3 separate regions of the Homo sapiens genome follow, and regions 1 and 2 are each linked to region 3. Evidence: promoter capture Hi-C in 16 types of primary human blood cells and fetal thymus (Javierre and others, 2016). All regions are on one chromosome and are shown on one strand. Each heading gives the region's core, a stretch centred on a gene start or on the middle of the fragment in contact. The rest is flanking DNA. Distances are from core to core; before and after follow the strand shown.

Region 1 (3,377 bases), core at 68-2,567, 180 kb before region 3:
ACCTAGCTGGGCTGAAAGCCAGGACTTGAGAGGTTGAGCTGGGAAGTTCTCATCCTCTTCGGCTCTAACTGTGGTCTATCCATCTCCTTCCTCAAAGAGGCTGTCTTGGCCCCACCCAGACACAATCTTCTGAGGCTTAGAAGAAGTGGCATTTTCTTTGGCAGGAGGGGTTCTTGAATGAATTCACAGAAATGGGAATGGGAAAGAGATGGATACCTTCTCCTGGCAGGGCTCCTGCCAGGAAGAAGTTAAGGCACACCTAGAACCTGCTTCCTGTCCTAGGAAACCCCTGGTCCAGCCCACCCTGCCTGACTCACTGGATCTGGGGCATGAGTCATACCCCTTCCTTCCCCAGGCTGTGGTGGCTGAGCCACCAGCCCACCAGGGAACCATGATGACATAAGCCCAACTCACCCATAGGGAAGAGGATGGAGACAGAAGGAAGCAGACAGCAGTAAACAGCTGGGGGAGGGGGCAGGGACGAGCAAGAAGCTTTCAGAGAGACACCCCTCCTCTCCCTCTCAGGCCTGGAGGCTGATGTGGAAGGGTCCCTGGCCCTCTCAGCTCCTCCCCTTTTTGTCCCGAAGGGACAGGGACAGATAATGCCTAGGGTGCTGAGTTGCAGAAAACTATTAGGTCTGTGTTTAAGTATAGGTGACTCACAGCCTGATGTGAGAATCTATCATTAGAGATTCATTCCTTTAGCTTCAGATAAGAATCCCCTGTTTAAGATACATAGAGTGGAAAAGGATAAATCATGGAAACTTATTCACAATAAATGCCTGGACTTCTTGAGTTTACCGGAATCACAGAATCAGAATCTAATCCCTAAAGATCACCAAATCCGGATGCTTCATTTTATAAATGAGGACCCTCAAAGCCCAGGGAAATAAAATGACTTGTCCAAGGTCTTGCAGCCAGTTAGTGGTAAAACCAGGGCCAGAATACAGGCTAACAGAGCTCAAGGCTGGCTCCTGGCAAATACAGGGCAATGCCCCCAGCAGCGACCTGCATCAGAGCATCCTGCAGTGAGAGGGGGGCTGCAGGCCTGGAAGGGCTCTGTCTGCAGAACTGGAAAAGACTTCAAAAAATCCTTCTACATTTTTTTCTGAACATAAAAATACATTTGTGCATATTATAGAATATTTAGAAAATACCAAAAGGGATAAAACCACCCTGAATCTATCACTCAGACAGATGATCAGTATGTTTATATGCACATACTTTTAAATTAAATTTTATTTAAAATTTTTGAACCCTGCCTTTTTTTTTAACTTATAATAGCTAATAAGTATCTTACCAGGTCATTAAAAGTAATTCAAAAACATAATTTAAATAACTGCATAAAATTTCATGGTGACTGAATTTAATCATTCCCATGTAGGTTGAATTTCCTTTTTCACTGTGTAAATAGTATTATGATAAATATCTCTGTACATACACATTTTGCCAGATCTCTGATTATTTCAGATAAACATCTAAGGTATAATTTTAGGTTAAAGGGTGTAAATTTTTAAAATTCTTGAAGCATATCACAAAACTGCTTTCTAGAAATGTATCACATGCTATCCTCACCAGCAGCGTATGACAATGCCAGTCTCACTGCGTCTACGCCAGCATTCAGTATAGTATTTTCAGGAATATACATCATTCTATTATAAAGATACATGCATGTGTATGTTCATTGCAGCACTATTCACAATAGCAAAGACATGGAATCAACCCAAATGCCCATCAATGTTAGACTGGATAAAGAAAATGTGGTACGTATACACCATGGAATACTATGCAGCCAAAAACAGGAATAAGATCATGTCCGTTGCAGGGACTTGGATGAAGCTGGAAGCCATTATCCTCAGCAAACTAACACAGGAACAGAAAACCAAACATCGCATGGTCTCACTTGTATGTGGGAGCTGGACATTGAGATCACATGGACACAGGGAGGGGAATAACACACACTGGGGCCTGTCAGGGGATGTGGCGGGAGGGAGAGCATCAGGAAAAATAGCTAGTGCATGTTGGGCTTAATACCTAGGTGATGGGTTGATAGGTGCAGCAAACCACCATGGCACACATTTACCTGTGTAACAAACCTGCACATCCCGCACATGTACCTTGAAACTTAAGATAATTAAACAAGAAGCTTTGCTGATTTTAAAAATGTATTTGCTTATTTATTTTTTATCAGCCCACATCATGCTTTGAGTAGAAAGCTTTGCTGATTTTCTCAGAACCAGCAGGGACAACCCCCACTTGCGTAAGCTGTGTGTTATCTCAGTCAAGGCTGAGCCCTGCTACCTGGGGGACGGCCAGCTAGAGGGACGTCCCCTGGAAGAGACTCAGAACTGAGAAGTTGCTGGAAAACTGCTAGAGAACTGGGCGGTGAAGTCCCAGAGTAGCGCATCATTTGTAGGAAAAGGAGGGCGTGTGGGGTCCCGGGCAGCCAGGAGAGCACCCTGAAGGCACTGAAAAGATTGGGCAGAGGCAAAAAGCCAGAGGAGACAGGAGCTAGAAGTACAGGCAGGAAAAGACTAAAGAGAAATTTTGCCTAATTCGTGGCTATGCCCAAGGCCATCCAGCTAGTTGCTCTGCTACAACAGAAATGTATATTCATTCATCTGTCAATTCATTCATTCATTCACTGAAGCAGGGAGACAGATACTGAGAATGTCCGTGTACAAAGCACGGACAGTGCCATGGGTGACACACAGACCTGCCCTGGGGCCTCATATGTCAGTGTAAACAAGGTATCTTTTCCATTAACAGCAGCATTGTTGATTAACAGCATCTTTTGTACTAATTCCGGGGACACTGCAGTTCACAGGGCAGATGCTCCACCATAAAGGTGAGGCTTCTCACACTATCTGTGGTGAAGACTGGACTTCTGAGCTGTGAACATTGAGTGGTCCTACTGTGCATGACCAGAAAACAGCCTCTGCCACAAGTGACTTATTGGAGACTTCTACGTCACCCAAACTGGTCTATATTCTGTTCAGTGAATCAAGACCACGGACTGTGTGCTTGAATGTTGTGGTAATGCCCAGCTGCTATAAAAGTTTCCAAGCACTGACTCTCAGTTCCCATTCTTTCATCATAGAGCAGTACCAGATCACTCTTGAACAGCACTGCTCTTGAGTATGGGTTCTGGAATCTATAGCATGGGTTCAAACCCTTCCTATGCCACCCATGTTACTGATGGCAAGTTACTTATCCTCTCTGATCCTCAAGTTCCTCATCTCTAATATGGGCTAATAGCATACAAAGAGTTGTTTGGGGAAAATAAATGAGATTATGACAATAAATTATGTAGTGCGGTGCCTGGGACACAGTAAACACACAATAGGTTTTTTCATTTCCACTCGATCCCACGTTGT
Region 2 (3,301 bases), core at 242-2,741, 170 kb before region 3:
TGTGTTTACATACAATCCTATAGGTGCCCCAACAACCTGGCAGGAGAGTCCCTATTCTCTCTAGATTTCAGAAAGACAAATCAAACCATGGGAAATCCATGGCAGGCATGAACAGCTAATTCTAGTTCACCAAATCTGGGCTAACAAGAGCAGATAAAAAGGGTTCAGCATAGGCTGGGCGTGGTGGCTCACGCCTGTAATCCCAGCACTTTGGGAGGCCGAGGCGGGTGGATCACGAGGTCAGGAGTTCGAGACCAGCCTGACCAACATAGTGAAACCCCATCTCTACTAAAAATACAAAAATTAGCTGGGCATGGTGGCGCTTGCCTGTATCCCAGCTACTCGGCAGGCTGAGGCAGGAGAATTGCTTGAACCTGGGAGGCGGAGGTTGCAGTGAGCCGAGATCGCGCCACTGCACTCCAGCCTGGGTGACAGAGTGAGACTCTGTCTCAAAAAAAAAAAAAAAAAAAAAAAAAAAAAACGGTTTAGTGTAATCCCAGCATTTTGGGAGGCCAAAGTAGGAGAATCGCTTGAGCCCAGGAGTTTGAGACCAGCCTGGGCAACATTATGAGACCCCATCCCTACCCAAAACATTTTAAAAATTAGCCCAGTGTTGTGGCACACATCTGTGGTCCCAGCTACTCTGGAGGCTGAGGTGGGAGGATCGCTTGAGCCCAGGAGGTCCAGGCTGCAGTGAGCTGAGATGCCACCATTGCACTCCAGCTGGGGTGACAGAGTGAGACCCCAACTCAACAACAGCAGCAGCAGCAGCAGCAGACCAAAACAGCGGCAAAAAAGGTTGGGGAAATGTGAGCTGGGTTGTGTCCCAGAAGCTCCCACATGGAAACTGGGGTGGGGGAAGGGAACAGAGGTTTCCGCAGGGGGCAGTCAGTGCCCATACTCTAGATGTCATCTTTGGGTGAGCTTGGAACTGGAGCACAATTTTATCTACTTTTTCTTCTTCATTTTGCATATTAAAATCTTTTAATAGGATAAAAAGCAAACATCTTTATTTAATGTGTTCATGTTGCGCTCACAGTGATTACCCTTAAATTTTTTAACATATTCTTTTCAATATGTACATGAAAATGTCACATAGAACAAAATGGAATATAGTGAGAAGTGTGTCTCTCCTGCCCCACAGGCAGCCACTATGAATTGGTAACATCTGCCCAGTGCTTTCCAGCTTAAAGAATGTGTGCTCATAAATTATCTCGTCGGATCCCAGCAACAACTCCCTAAGATATGTTGGCCCTAAATCATTATTGTCTCCACTTACAGATGGGAAATCCAGCTCCAAGAGGTTAAATGATCTGCCCAGAGTTAGGCATCTAAAGAATGGCAGGACCAAGATTTAGACCCTGGTGGTCAGAGCCCAACTTCTGAAGCCTTTGAATTACACCACACTGCCTTCCTTGGCGAACGAGCCCTGGTTCTTAGAACCTGGAATGTGCCATAAATAGTTCGCCTTCTGCAAAGAGAGACTTGCAGTTGGTCAGGAAACAGAAAAATATCTCCTGTCTTGAGTATTTACCTTCCAGAATGGACTGTTCATTCTCTGCTCTGAGACACGTTTACAAGGACACCTCTCTTCTGTGTTTTAGAGCATCGTACCTTTAAAAGTCAGCAGCGGGCAAGCTCTCAGGACAGACTATGTGAAGAGCCTGGTGTTCTAGGGCTGCCATGACAAATTGCCACAAACTGTGGGGCTGAAATAAACAGAAATGTATTCTCTCATGTTCAGGAGGACAGAAGTCCGAAACCAAGGTGTTGGCAGAGTTGGTTCTTTCTGGAAGCTCTGAGGGAGAATCTCGGGCTTCTCTGCTGCCTTATGGTGGTTGCCGGCAACCTGGGTGGTCCTGGGTTTGTAGGGGCATCACTCCAATCTCTGTTTTGGTGGTCGCATGTGGTGTTTTCCCTGTCTGTGTGTCTTTGTTTTCTCTTTTATAAAGTTCCCAGTCATTTGATTTAGGGCCCACCCTCATCTAGGTATGACCTCATTTTAAGTAATTATGTCTGCAGAGACCCTGTTTCCACATAAGGTCACATTCTGAGCTTCTTGTTGAGCTTGAATGTTAAGGAGACACCATTCAACGTAGTCCTCTCTGTTTTTCTGTTTTGTTCAATAAATAGGGAGGGCACTTTTAGAACATTCTGACTCTTCCTTAACCAGCCATGTCCCAACCCAGGAAGTTGATGCCCATCTTACAAGGAGGGCCAGAAAAAGGGAACAAGGCACACAGAGGTATCCTCAGAGCTGATGGATGGCTGCTGGCAGATGCCCAGAAACAGGTGCTGGGCCTGGAGGGTGGAAGTATATACCATGGTAGCTACATGGTTTGGTGTCAAAATACTTGTATTTTAGTGAGCATGAGAATGAGAGTAAGAGTGGGACAGAGAGAAGAGAAAAGGGAGGGAGAAAGATGGCTTATTCACACACAAAAATTTAGTGGTTCAGAATTAATTTAACTTGGAATAAATGATTTTTTTTTCAAAGAAAATTTTAAAGTTGGAGGTATAGAGGAAAACGTGAAAGAATACAGAGATGTACTTTGATCCTAATTGTGAAGTCTAAATAGTTAAAACTAAAATGGAATATAAAGACAAATGAGACGCATCCTATAATTCAACAACAACAACAACAACAAACCCATTAAAACTCATCGGGAGTATGAATGGACAAAATATCAAAAAAATTTTTGTGGGGGAAAAAGAAGGAGGAGGGTAAACTTAAAAAAGCAGTCATCACTATATTTCACTGGGGTAAAGACAAGAAAAGTTGGCCAGGGTAATAGAAGAGACATACTCTACAGAAACAAATTCAAGCTATTTAAAGACTTGATATAAGATGAATAAGCATCAACACAATGCTACAAGAAAGAATCACTGTTTAACAAATATCGTCTAAGTGGGTCATAAAAAGCCAGAGAAAATGGGAAAGCAAATGTGTTTCCACTGTGATGAGAAGAAAACATTTTGACTATTGATGAAATTAGATATCAGAGACAGGATGGACGGATCTAAATGTGTTTTTAAAAGCCTTTTGTGCCACAGAATGTAATAAAGCAAACACAAAAATGAAAGCCACAGATGGGGGAGAAATATATGTGGCAAATTAAGCTTTCTATCCAAAATAGCTAAAGAACAGATCTAACTATAAAAGGCCAGTATCCTGCTCCTTTTTGATAAGTACTCAAAGGAAATGAGCAGAGAGTTTACACACAATACTTCACATAGAAAAATAGGCAGCCCCACCATGTATCTTGAATTTGCAATTTCAGTGAATTTTATAATGTTATAA
Region 3 (3,565 bases), core at 1-2,500:
CATACGGTTTAGATAGTTAGATAGTTTCCTGCAATTAGGGCAGTCTTAATTCTGCATATTTCTATGCTAAATTACCATGCTCTGAAACACGCTTTGACAGCAAAAAAGCGAATGGATGCAGTAATGGAAACAATATCCAAGTTACAAAAATAAATAGCCCTGCTGTACTTAGCTCTGATTAGATCACTTCTGGGATAATACATTCAATTCAGGCACTACATATGAAACTAGAACTTATCCTGAAAATTAGGATAATTCTTTTTATTTGAGAGCTGTCACAAAGTTACTGCATTTAACCCTCACAATATCATGAAGCTGGTATGGCAGGCATGAATTCTATTTTAGAGATGTAGAAAATTGAGGCTCAGAGAAAACAGGAATGAATCTGGAAATTGAGCACAGCTATCACACACGTCCAAAATTTCATAAACCTTTAGAAAGTACTTGAAATTGGGGAAGGGTTTGGGAGGAGGGAGGGTTAAAAAACTCCCTTGAAAAACAGAGATTAGGAAGAACTATAACACTCTATCTATACACACAGATAAACACACACACTTGTGGAGGCAAAGACAGTTTGTGGAAGTCTACGTAAAGTATTGTTAGCAGTACTACTTTGAGGAGCAGAAGGGATGGACGAGGAAGACCCACTTAGTAGTTCCTTGAACTCTTGGAATTAAATTACTGCGCGCCTATACTACATAGAACACATGGCAGTTAAAGTTTTAGGCCGTCGCGCAAGAACTAGATGTATGCTGAGTGAACCCACGGAGCAGAGCACAGCCACGGAAGGGGAATGTACTATCCAGGAGCACACATTTCACTAAACGTCATTTAAAGAGCTGTCCAGCAGCGGAATATCGTCCCCAGAACCCGTGAGTTCCCGCCCTCCTGTCCTATCACTGTAGGAGGGGCCGACCAGAGGTCCGGGCTCGACCAAAGACCCCAAAGACCCTCCCAAAGCCGAACCCCCTCCTTCGAGCGCGGGGAGGGGCCGACTTGCCATTACCTCGCAGAGGGTGAAGAGTCCGTAGGCCGCCAGCCACACCGTGCAGGTGACAGCGGTGAGCGAACGCAGCGAGAGCCGAGGGCAGCTGAGGCAGAATTCCCGGCAGGACGGGGAGTAGTAGCGGCGCTGCAGCGCCAGGCGGCCGCCGCAGATATCCGAAAAGCTCCGCTCATCCTCCATGACGCCCCCACTCGGCCGCCCGCACCGCGCGGCGCTGCACTGCGCTCGCCGGCCCTGGCCGTCTCGCCCGCTCCAGACCCGCTTCCGGCAGCCGCGTCACCACGCCCCGCCCTAAGCCTGCGCAGCCTCAGTTGCGCGCCGAGAGCTCTGCTGGGGGCTGATGGTTGTGCGTTCTTCCGGGCCGGCCTTGACTGTCTTCGAAAAAACCTCGTCGGGGCAATAGTTAAGTGGAAAGATTAAAATCGTTTTTAGACCGGGCGCGTTGACTCAGGCCTGTAGTCCAGCACTGGGAGGCCAAGGCGGGAGGATCGCTTGAGCCTGGGAGGTCGAGGTTGCAGTGAGCGGAGATCATGCCCCTGCTCTCTAGCCTGTGCGAGAGAGCAAGACCCTGTCTCAAAACAAACCCACAGTTTGTTTTTGTTTTGAGACGGAATGGCGCGACGTCGGCTCACTGCAACCTGCTTCCCCCGGGTTCAAGCGATTCTCCTGCCTAAGCCTCCTGAGTAGCTGGGATTACAGGCGCGCGCCACCACGCCCTGCTGATTTTTGTATTTTTAGTAGAGACAGGTTTCACCATGTTGGCCAGGTTGGTCTCAAACTCCTGACCTCAGGTGATTCGCCCGCCTCGGCCTCCCGAAGTGCTGGGATTACAGGCGTGAGCCACCGCACCCAGCCCAAACCCACAGTTTTAATCATGCTTTTGCTTGGCAAGCCGATTTCTCTAAGCCAGAGTGAGCCGCAAGGAGAGCCCACGGGTATTCATTTCACTTACTCTTTTCCTGTGCCGGGTAGTTTGAGGTGCTTGAGGATGCAGCAGTGAACGATGTTGATGACAGTCTCTGCCCTCGGGCAGCTTCCTTTCTAGTAGGAGACAATATGGAAATAAGAGAGTATCGTTGGCAATACTATGCTGACTGGCAGGGATGGACTGAGGACTTTACATAGGGCAGTCAGGCGAAGTCTCTAAGTAAGAGGACACTGAGTTACAAGGGTGACGAGCCAGACAGGACTGAAGGAGCTCTGGAGGAGGAATTTGCCAGAAAGAAAGACCAGGAAAGGCAAACCCCTCGAAGTTGGAACAAGCTTGGCTTAATGAAATAATCAAAAGGCGAGAAAGGTTGGTGTGTGGGGAAAACAGTTGGAAGCTGGGGAGGCAGGTAGGGGTCAGATCCAAGAGGGTCTTGTAGGGTCTGGTAAGGAGTTTGGATTTCACTGCCTGGGAGTTCTGTCTCCCAAATGACTGCTTGGACCGTGGTAGACAGGCAAGACCTGGCTGGGAATTAAGCAGGAGCGGGAGATGCAGAAGAAATGGATAATAAAATTACTAAACTCATGAGTAATAGTGGCCTATGAGTTCCATTTTTACTTCTGATGTGGCCCAGGAGTGGCTATGTGGACTGTCAAAACACTTGTGATGGGCTGGGCATGGTGGCACATGCCTGTAATCTCAGCACTTTGGGAGGCTGAGGAGGGCAGATCACTTGGGTCAGGAGTTCAAGATCAGCCTGGCCAACATGGTGAAACCATCTCTACTAAAAATACAAAAAAATTACCTGGGCATGGTGGAGCATGCCTGTAATCCCAGCTGTTCGGGTGGCTGAGGCAGGAGAATCACTTGAACTTAGGAGTTCAAGACCAGCCTGGGCAACAGAGCAAGACTGTGTCTATATTCATTTAAAAAAAAAAAAAGATCCATGGCATAAAGGTCTCACCAGCTTTAAGTCTCTCTGATGAAAGGTTCCGTTTCTTCATCTTCATTCAGAATTTTATTTCCCTTTCTTTTTTCCTAAAGGATTTCTTCAAGCACTTCTTTATTTTTCTAGTTTTATTTCTGTGCCCCGAATCTGACAATTAATACACTCCTTTTATTAGTCCGTTTTCACACTGCTATAAAGAACTACCTGAGACTCGGTAATTTATAAAGAAAAGAGGTTTATTGACTCACAGTTCCACATGGCTGGCAAGGCCTCAGGAAACTTACAATAATGGTGGAAGGCAAAGGGGAAGCCAGGCATGTCTTACATGGCAGCAGGAGGGGAGTGGGGAAGTGCCACATTTTTAAACCGTCAGATCTCGTGAGAGAACTCACTCAGCATCACGAGACCAGCATGGGGGAAATCCGTCCCCATGATCCAATCACCTCCCACTGGGTCCCTCCCCTAACAAGTGGAGATTACAATTTGACATGAGATTTGGGTAGGCACAGAGAGCCGAACCATATCACCCCTTTTACTATTGCATATATCATGTGTTTTATAATTATAAAAGTGATATTTGCTTATTGTGGAAAATTTGAAAAATACAGAAAAGAAAAAAATGTAAACCACCCATATTTCCATCACTCAGAGATAAGTACTGTTAATGTTTTGGGGAAGCCTG

Evidence for each region. The method cuts DNA at HindIII sites, captures the fragments that hold promoters and counts their contacts. A CHiCAGO score of 5 or more calls a contact.
Region 1: a contact is called between a fragment that was not itself captured here and the fragment with the promoter of PIGH in region 3, in 1 of 17 cell types (M1 macrophages). The highest score is 5.2, in M1 macrophages.
Region 2: a contact is called between a fragment that was not itself captured here and the fragment with the promoter of PIGH in region 3, in 7 of 17 cell types (fetal thymus, naive CD4 T cells, M0 macrophages and 4 more). The highest score is 6.0, in fetal thymus.

What each region holds. Positions count from the first base shown.
Region 1 is chr14:67,414,003-67,417,379 of GRCh38, forward strand. It overlaps a transcript of GPHN not described here. Among named protein-coding and RNA genes, the nearest start is that of PLEK2, 3.5 kb to the left of the region's middle. The HindIII fragment of the contact is 1,654 bases long and covers 491-2,144 here.
Region 2 is chr14:67,430,941-67,434,241 of GRCh38, forward strand. It overlaps a transcript of GPHN not described here. Among named protein-coding and RNA genes, the nearest start is that of MIR5694, 9.3 kb to the right of the region's middle. The HindIII fragment of the contact is 3,254 bases long and covers 1-3,118 here.
Region 3 is chr14:67,599,018-67,602,582 of GRCh38, forward strand. It overlaps PIGH (phosphatidylinositol glycan anchor biosynthesis class H), which reads right to left and starts at 1,251. Exons shown (of 4, transcript NM_004569.5): 1 at 1,007-1,251. The coding sequence starts at 1,186. It also overlaps a transcript of GPHN not described here. RefSeq lists an enhancer at 929-1,248. The HindIII fragment of the contact is 5,160 bases long and covers 1-2,267 here.